Regions from separate parts of the Homo sapiens genome. Here region 2 is linked to region 1. Evidence: promoter capture Hi-C in human tissues and cell types (Jung and others, 2019). All regions are on one chromosome and are shown on one strand. Each heading gives the region's core, a stretch centred on a gene start or on the middle of the fragment in contact. The rest is flanking DNA. Distances are from core to core; before and after follow the strand shown. Region 1 holds the start of ART5 (ADP-ribosyltransferase 5). Region 2 has its middle 6.8 kb from the start of RHOG.

Region 1 (4,403 bases), core at 644-3,143:
CAACTCCCAGTACAAGGTGTTCGATGAGTTGGTGTAGACCATAATGGCTATTCCATTCTGGGCTTTGAAGCCAGGGGGCAAGGTAAGCCCTCGACGCTTGTCCTCCCAGGTCTCCTGGGCTGCCTCCCAGGATTCCCGCAGCAGGGCATGGTGGGCCATTTCCTCCTTTAGCAGGGGGGCTGCCTTCTCCTCCATCTCCTCTGCACAACCCACATAGGTATCGTCAAAGGTGTCTGGAGCCAGGCCCAGGGGCAGGATGGGAACAGCCTGGGCCTGTGGAGCAAAAGAGGTGCCACACCGAAAAGAGCATAAGTTCAGAGCACTGGACATGGGTCCTGGGGGCAAACCCATCCAGAAACACAGAATCTCATTTCTATCCCTAAATATCAGGTATATGCAATTTGGCAAGGGCCCAATAAGAGGCTTAAATAACACAGGCACTGGAGTCAGTCAGACATGGACTGAAATCTTTTTTTTTTTTTTTTTTTTTTGATGGAGTCTTGCTCTGTTGCCCAGGCTGGAGTGCAGTGGTGAGATCTCGGCTCACTGCAAGCGCCACCTCCCAGGTTGGAGTGATTCTCCCACCTCAGCCTCCCAACTAACTGGGATTACCTGTGCATGCCACCATGCCTGGCTAATTTGTTTTTGTGTTTGTTTCTTTGAGACGAAGTCTCGCTCTGTTGCCCAGGCCGGAGTACAATGGCACGATCTTGGCTCACTGCAACCTCTGCCTCCCGGGTTCAAGCAATTCTCCTCTCTCAGCCTCCCAAGTAGCTAGGATTACAGGTGCGCAATACCACGCCCAGCTAATTTTTTGTATTTTTAGTAGAGACAGGGTTTCACCATGTTGGTCAGGCTGGTCTCGAACTCCTGACCTCAAGTGATCCACCAGCCTCAGCCTCCCAAAGTGCTGGGATTACAGGAGTGAGCCACCGCGCGCAGGCTGAAATCTTGACTTTACCACCTATTAGCTGTGAGGCCTTGGGCAAGTGTCATAACTTTTCTGGACTTGAGGATACTTCCAACCTCACAGTTATTATGAAGACAGCATAAAGAGCATTACTTCTGTACAACCTAAAAGGGGTCATCCTGTCATTAGAAAGGTTCTTGCAGTCGGTGGGAGGTGGGACTAGATGACTATCAAGCACTTTTCCGGCTGTAAGATCTGGCAGGCAGGTGATGTGCAAATATTACACACAGCCAGTGTCCAGCTGCCTAACCCCCAGCCCCATTCTCCTCGGGCTCTCTTTCCCTCTCATCCAGCAGGAAGCCCTTGCAGGTAGGTGCTCAGCCACCACACCAAATCACTGTGAGCTCTGAGACGCCTGAGTCCTCCCCTGCTCTGTACCCACATTTGGGGTAGGGGTGGTGGGGAGGCCAAGCCTTGGTTGGGACGGGCTGCCAGGACTGCAGCACACAGGTAACCCAAGGAGGCTTTGCCGGGCTGTGCCTGCGCTGGGAGATGAGAGGTGGGGAGGAGAACGTTGGAGGCATCCAGAGAGGGATGGAGATGGGGGTTCTAGGAGACAGAATGGGAACTTGGGGCTCCCTGCAGAGATGGAGGTTCCTGAGAGGAAGAGAGTTAAGAGTGGAATCCTAGGGAAGAGTCCCTGGGAGAGGGATGTGAGGAGTCAGCCCCGGGTCCACTTCCTCAGGGTCTGTCCCTTAATGTCCCCCTTGGGGCTAGGAGATGGTTCCTGGAGTTACCTGCCAGGTGTGGAGGCCGAGGCTGCCGAGGGCGATCATCAAAGCCGCCAGCGCCATCCCTGGAGGAGACGTGAGGGCCAGGGGTCCGGGTGAGGGCGGGACCAGAGGTGCTGGAGTCCTGGTTTCGAGGGGCTGGAGGCAGATCTGGACCCTGTCTCCAGGCGCACGGGATCCCGGGTCCAGGATTAGGGCCCCGGCGGGGCGTGGGCGGGGCCTGGGAGTTTATTGCCCGCCCCCCGCCCCAAGTCTCCGCCCCCGACTCCCCACACCCCTTCCTCAGAGCCTCCAGTCTGGGGACCTTTCCGAGACTGTAAAGGCGGGGCCGCAGTTTGGCTCCGCCTGAGAGGGGAGGGCCGGGGGCGGAGGACCCACTTGAAGGCTGCGGAAGCCGCCAGCGGGAGGGAGCGCCGAGGGCTCTGGCGGGCGCTGCGCTGTCCCCGGAGGAGTCCGGAGTCCGGCTGAAAGCAAAGGTTCTCGAGGCTAACTGTAGCCCCCGCGCTGGTAACCCGACACCCCTTTCCCAGCGCCGCACGCGGGGCCGGGAGCGGGCGCGCCAGGGCAGGGACTGAGGAGCAATTCCCTTTCTCAAGGCCTGCGGGGTCTTTCTGCGGGACCCTCTTTGGCTGTGAGTGATGGGGAGGAAACTTGTGAGACTCGGCCTCTCCCTCAGGCGGGCCCTGACCCGGTCGGCCCCTGGTCCCCGGCCCACCAGGCCAGGGGCCCCGCGGGGGTCCCGCCGGCCGAGAGGTCGCCCCCGGAGCACTGCGATTTGCATACAGTTTGCATTTGGCCCACACCCTGGGCCACGTGCTCCAGCATCTGAGCAGCGCCCACTCCCTGCCTGCTCTGGGCCCTCTCCCCATTCGCCTTCAGTGGGGTTGGGCCAGAGACAGAGCCCTTGGTCGCAGATCCACAGGGTCCGGTCTCGCCCCTCCCCCAGACCGCTCTCGTGGCCGCTCAGACTCAGGTGACCCATGTTTGTAAACACTGGCCTTTCCCCCACCTCCTCTGGGCTTATCTATAAATAACCTGGCTCTGAGTTTTGGATGCCCCGTCAGAGGTCATGGGAGAAGGGGCCAGCGGAGGAATTGGTAACTCAGGGAAGAGCTTCCTAGCAGCCAGAGCCAGGAGGAGGTGGGGTTGTCACCCCTCCTTCCCCCAGCGGCCGGAGGGTCGCCGAAAGCTAGGATTTGAGAAATGCTGCCTGCTGGGGCTGAGGTGGGCACGAAAGATTAGAGCTACCCAAAGGAATCCATCCTGGTCTGGCTCATTAATTTTCCCCATCCCTGTCCCCCCATCCCCTCAGAGTGTCAGCCAAATAAAAAGTTTCCTCCACCTAGAATCCTGCTATCTCCCAGAATCCTTTCTGTAGACCAAACGGGAAGACATACGGTGGGTCCAGGCTTGGAGGAGGGTGGGGAGGGAGGTGCTTCTGAGTGCTTGTTAGAAAAACAGCTCCAGGGCAGGGCGCAGTGGCTCCCGCCTGTAATCCCAGCACTTTGGGAGGCTGAAGTGGGAGGATCACGAGGTCAGGAGTTCGGGACCAGCCTGGCCAACAAAGATTAGCCGGGCGTGGTGGCAGGGGCCTGTAATCCCAGCTACTTGGGTGGCTGAGGCAGGAGAATCGCCTGAAACCGGAAGGTGGAGATTGCAGTGAGCTGAGATGGAGCCACTGCACTCCAGCCTGGGCAAAAGGGCGAAACTCCATCTCAAAAAAAAAAAAAAAGAAAAAAGAAAGAAAGAAAGAAAAACAGCTCCAGGACAAGTTCTTTTGCCCCCTTCTATGAGTCTAGCCATCCCAAAGCCCTCCCAGATTCTAAAATAAGGAATCATCCTACCGTTTCCCATCATGGTGAAAAACAGCATTTGCCTATATATCCTGCCTGCCCACTCTCTGGAGGAAGTTGAGTGTTTGCAGTTGCTTGAAAAGATACCACCTGAGGACAGCTTGGCCTGCTGGGATGACCCGAGACCAGATGTATTGGAATCACTGCTTTGTCCCTCTCCACCCTCTGGCTTTGGGGGATTGCTTCTCCCATCCCAGGACCTGGAACCCAAAATAAGGCCCCAAGAGATGGATTCAAATCTAGTCATTGGGGGCCGGGTGCGGTGGCTCACACCTGTAATCCCAGCACTTTGGGAGGCCGAGGCAGGCGGATCACGAGGTCAAGAGATCGAGACCATCCTGGCCAACATGGTGAAACCCCATCTCTACTAAAAATACAAAAATTAGCTGGGCGTGGTGGCAGGCGCCTGTAGTCCCAGCTATTCAGGAGGCTGAGGCAGGAGAATCGCTTGAACCCGAGAGGCAGAGGTTACAGTGAGCCAAGATTGCGCCACTGCACTCCAGCCTGGTGACAGAGCGAGACTCCATCTAAAAAAAAAAACTAGTCATTGGGCAGGGATCCTAAGTATAGCATTAAGAAGTCCTGCAAGATCACTGGTAAGTCAGAGCTGGAACTGGGACTCAGAATACAGCCTCCTTAGTTCGAATCTCTCCTGGCACCTTAGCTAAGTCTCAGTGTTTGTGTGAAAGGTACAAAATCTAAGGAGACGCTCTCTGAGGTCGGGGTGCTGAAGCTTCCTCCTCTCTTCCTCCTCCTTGGCTGACCAGAGTACAGGACCACAGCCAGTGAGGAGGCAGTTGTCCCAGCCTGGATCCCCAGTGCTTCAGTCCACCTCCTCTCTGGCTTCAG
Region 2 (4,688 bases), core at 1,748-4,247, 210 kb after region 1:
CTGTAAGAGCATATAACAGAGCCAACTTCTCAGTCTTAGTTTCATTTTAAAATGGGAATGGCTGGGCGTGGTGGCTCATGCCTCTATTCCTAGCACTTTGAGAGGCCAAGGTGGGACAATCACTTGAGCCCAGGAATTTGTAACCAGCCTAGGCAATCATAGCAAGACCCCATCTGCATACACACACAAAAATTAGCTGGGCATAGTGGCACATGCCTGTAGTCCCAGTTACTTGCTAGGCTGAGGTGGGAGGATCACTTGAGTCTAGGTGTTTGAGGTTGCAGAGAGCTATGATCATGCCACTGCACTACAGTCTGGGTGACAGAGTGAGATCCTGTCTCTAAAAACTAACAAATAAAAAACAATAAAATGGGACTGGCAAGTGCTGCATGAGATTGTGAGTATTAAACGACATAATGCATGTGGAGCCCTCGTAAATTGCCCTAGGGTACAGCAAATAAACATTAGTTAATTTCTCCACACTCCCTTGATGTTTTCAGGTATCCCCCCGCCCTTGGTTAATTCTTCCCTCTCTCTCAATGTCAAAATGCTAAAGCTGACTAGTTTCCCTGAGAGAGGAGGGGACAGAGAGTGAGAGGAGAAAGGCCCTGAACTGATCTCACCAGTGCCCTGAGGATTCCAAAGGGGTCTTCCCAGCCTATTCCTCACTGAACTCCAGCTCCAGGAGCTCACCAGTGATCCACAGGGGTCTTGGCTTAGCCCCAGTCCCAGCCCCTTTAGGTTACCCTTAAATCTGAATTCTCTTTTGCCTCTGCTGTGGCTCCAGGGGACTCAGCCTTCTTGGGGCTCCTCTTGATCCTTTGGTCTTCCCTCTCTCAGCCAGCCTCAGGAGTAGAACACAGTTTCCTCTTCATTATTTCTTTTTTTTTTTTGAGACAGAGTCACCCAGGCTGGAGTGCTGTGGCACGATCTCTGCTCACTGCAACCTCTGCCTCCTAGATTCAAGCAATTCTCCTGCCTCAGCCTCCTGATTAGCTGGAATTACAGGCATGCACCACCACGCCCAGCTAACTTTTTCTATTTTTAGTAGAGACAGGGTTTCACCATGTTGGCCAGGCTGGTCTCGAACTCCCGACCTCAGGTGATCCGCCCACCTGGGCCTCCCAAAGTGCTGGGATTACAGGCGTGAGCCACCGTGCGTGGCCTTTATTTTATTTTTTATTTTTTGAGATGGAATTTTGGCCTGTAGCCCAGGTTGGAGTGCAATGGCACGATCTCAGCTCACTGCAGCCTCCACCTCCCGGGTTCCAACGATCCTCCTACCTCAACCTCCTAAGTAGCTGAGATTACAGTTGCCTGCCACCCGCCTGGCTACTTTTTTGTATTTTTAGTAGAGATGGGGTTTCACCATGTTGGCAAGGCTGGTCTTGAACTCCTAACCTCAAGTGATCCACCTGCTTCGGCCTCCCAAAGTGCTGGGATTACAGGCATGAGCCCCTGTGACTGGCCTCCTTTTCATTACTCCTCTTTATTGCTGCCCCCCAAAACAAGTCCAATATCCCATTTTGTGGGCTTTGATGGGCCAGACAGGAGACAGCAGAAAGAACTAAAAAGAGGTGACAAATTAAACAAAGTTCTAGAGTCACAACCTCTGATCTTTTTTCTTTTTTTATTTTTTTTCTTTTGTTTTGGAGATGGAGTCATGCTCTGTCGCCTAGGCTGGAGTGCAGTGGCGCAGTCTCGACTCACTGCAACCTCCACCTCCCAGGTTCAAGCCATTCTCCTGCCTCAGCCTCCCGAGTAGCTGGGACTACAGACGAGCACCACCACGACGGCTAATTTTTGTATTTTTAGTAGAGATGGGGTTTCACCATGTTGGCCAGGCTGGTCTTGAACTCTTGACCTCAAGTGATCTGCCTGCCTCAGCCTCCCAAAGTGCTGGGATTACAGGCGTGAGCCACCACATCTGGCCAATCTTTTGTTCTTGACTCTCTCAAGGAACTAAATGGATGAAGGGTGTGTGGACAATGGCCATGCCCTATTTTCCAAGAGGGTCCCTTCTCCCAGGCAGGCAGAACAATAGTTGTCCCGTTAGCCTCCAGGACAGCTTTGCATCTTTGACATTTTCTAAGCCCAGTGGTAGTACCCACATCATCTGGCATAATGCCCCTCTGGGAAAGTTCTCCTTCCTCAGTCCTGGTATTCTAAGAGCAACCCAACTATAGCTGCCCAGTTGATTCGGGATTCCCTGGGGAAATTTTCCCCAATTCTCATCTTTGCCATTTACTTGCTGTGTGATCCTGGAGAAGTTGCTGAATAATAATTTAGGAAAACAACTTAGATATGTTTTACATATGCTTTACACGTATTAACTCAATAAATATAACAAGTCTATAAGGCAGGTAATATTATTTCAATTTTACAGATAAGAATACTCACAGATAGGCCAGGTGAGGTGGCTCACGCCTGTAATCCCAGCATTTTGGGAGGCCGAGGTGGGTGGATCACCTGAGGTCAGGAGTTCAAGATCAGCCTGACCAGTATGGTGAAATCTTGTTTCTACTAAAACAAAAAGTACAAAAATTAGCCGGGCATGGTGGTGTGCACCTGTAATTCCAGCTACTCGGAGGCTGAGGCAGGAGAATTACTTGAACCAGGGAGGTGGAGGTTGCAGTGAGCCAAGATCATGCAATTTCACTTCAGCCTGGGTGATAGAGCAAGACTCTGTCAATAGCAAAAGCAAAAACAAAAACAACACAAAACAAAACAAAAAACCTCACAGATAGCAAAATTGAACGTGTCAGTTTTAATTTCCTTTGTAAGATGAATCTAAATTGTGTTACACCTCAGGATTGCTATGGATATTCATTATATGAGATAACATGTAAGCTCCAGGAGGGCAAGAAGTTTTGCTTGTTTTACTTAGTGCTATATTCCTAGTGCCTAGAACAGTGCCTGGTATGAAAATACTTTGCTCAGTAAATATTGGTTGAATGAATGATTGAATGTAGCACGTTTAGCATAATATCTAGCAGACAATAGTATCTTCCAAAACCACAGCTATTATTTAAACTTGATCTGTCTTGCCTGCTCACCTGGTCATCTAATCAATCACCAAATATTTCGCAAATCTGAACACTTTTCTATTCCCGTCATTATTGTCCAAATTAGACTTCAGGTCTTGTCCAAGGTCACACAGCGGTGAGCTGGGTTATCAGTACAGGTCTGTCAGACCATGTCACTTGTTTCCAGCTTCTACCTTTTCCAATACTTTCTCAGCACTATTGCCAGAATAATTTCTGCAAATCACAGTTACCTGATCTTGGTGTAATTCTTTAACGGCTCTGAAATTCCTTGCAGAATAAGAGCCAACATTTTTGAGCACATTACTCTACGCGAAGCACTGTGCCAATTGTTTTACACTTATGAACTCATCTAAGCCTTACAGGATCCTACTTTTTTCAGATGGAGGAATCGGAGGTCAGAGAGATTGAGTAACTGGCCCAGAGTCACACAGCATTGCTTGGATGTGAATCTAGGCAGTCTGATCCTAGAACCCCACTTACTCACCCACACACCCCAATCTGTGAGTCTGCACAGCCTGACTGCTTTAGACTGTTACTTGTCCTTCCTCTGTGCTCCCTCACCTATTCCTGTACCAATCCCTCTCGAGACATATTGACATGTACTAATTATCTCTACACACACACACACACACACACACACACACACACACACACTCACCCCATTTTTTTCCCCGTAAAAATGGACCTCTTTGAGAGTAGGAACTAAGTTGTTACAAATAGGTGCTCAGTAGGTGTTAAATGAATGAATGAACATTGCAAGCAAGATTCTAGAACTCACTCTGAATGAGGAGATGATTCTCTGTGTGAAACTAGCCTAGGAAAAGCTGTTGCTAGAAGCTAAGGTCTCTCCTCACTCTCTACCCACCCAGACCTTGGGCAATTTCTCAGCGATAGCTATACTTTCCATTTTTGGACACCAGGGAGCGCTACTAATAATGCAACCCAAACTAGGGGATTCCTAAATTTTTCTGAGCAGATTTTGGACTCTCAATTATTATTTCTAGCAAAGTCTCCCTCATTTTCTGAATGAAAGCTATTGGTAACCAGAAACTCTGCGGTGTGAAGAAAGGACAGTTATGCTGCTGTACAGAACACACATCATTCATTTATTCACTTAGCGAAACGTTTATTGAGTACCAGCTATGTAATGGGCAACCTAGACTGTGAAAATATAAAGATGGATAAAATGCAGCCCTTGATGAGCTCAGAGGCTAATGTAGAAGATATACGCTTATTAAATAATCATAATTCAGCTGCGCATGGTGGCATGTGCCTGTAGACGCAGCTACTCGGGAGACTGAGGTGGGAGGATCTCTCGAGTCCAGGAATTCAATGCTGCAGTGAACTATAATTGCACCACTGCACTTTAGCCTGGGCAACAGAGTGAGAACCTGTCTCTAAAAATAAATAAATAAATAAATAAATAAAAAAGAATATTCCTATTCAAAAAATAAAACTCACTTAAGTCCAGGAGGTTAAGGCTGTAGTAAGCCATGATCATACTACTGCACTCCAGCCTGAGTAACAGAGAAAGACCCTGTCTCAAAAAAAAAAAAAAAAATCATAATCAAATTACATAAGTACTCTAAGGTATAGAAGAAGACTGAAGAGACAGGGCAAGTCAGGCAAGGTGTTAAAGTG

What was found. The method cuts DNA at HindIII sites, captures the fragments that hold promoters and counts their contacts. A contact is called where the count stands out against the background at its distance.
Region 2: a contact is called between a fragment that was not itself captured here and the fragment with the promoter of ART5 in region 1, in 1 of the 25 tissues and cell types used here (aorta).

Annotation. Positions count from the first base shown.
Region 1 is chr11:3,640,099-3,644,501 of GRCh38, forward strand. ART5 (ADP-ribosyltransferase 5) reads right to left here and starts at 1,894. Exons shown (of 4, transcript NM_053017.5): 1 at 1,708-1,894; 2 at 1-273. The coding sequence starts at 1,764. RefSeq lists an enhancer at 1,601-2,314 and a silencer at 2,454-2,503. The HindIII fragment of the contact is 5,679 bases long and covers 542-4,403 here.
Region 2 is chr11:3,845,460-3,850,147 of GRCh38, forward strand. No RefSeq gene overlaps it. Among named protein-coding and RNA genes, the nearest start is that of RHOG, 6.8 kb to the left of the region's middle. The HindIII fragment of the contact is 4,728 bases long and covers 634-4,688 here.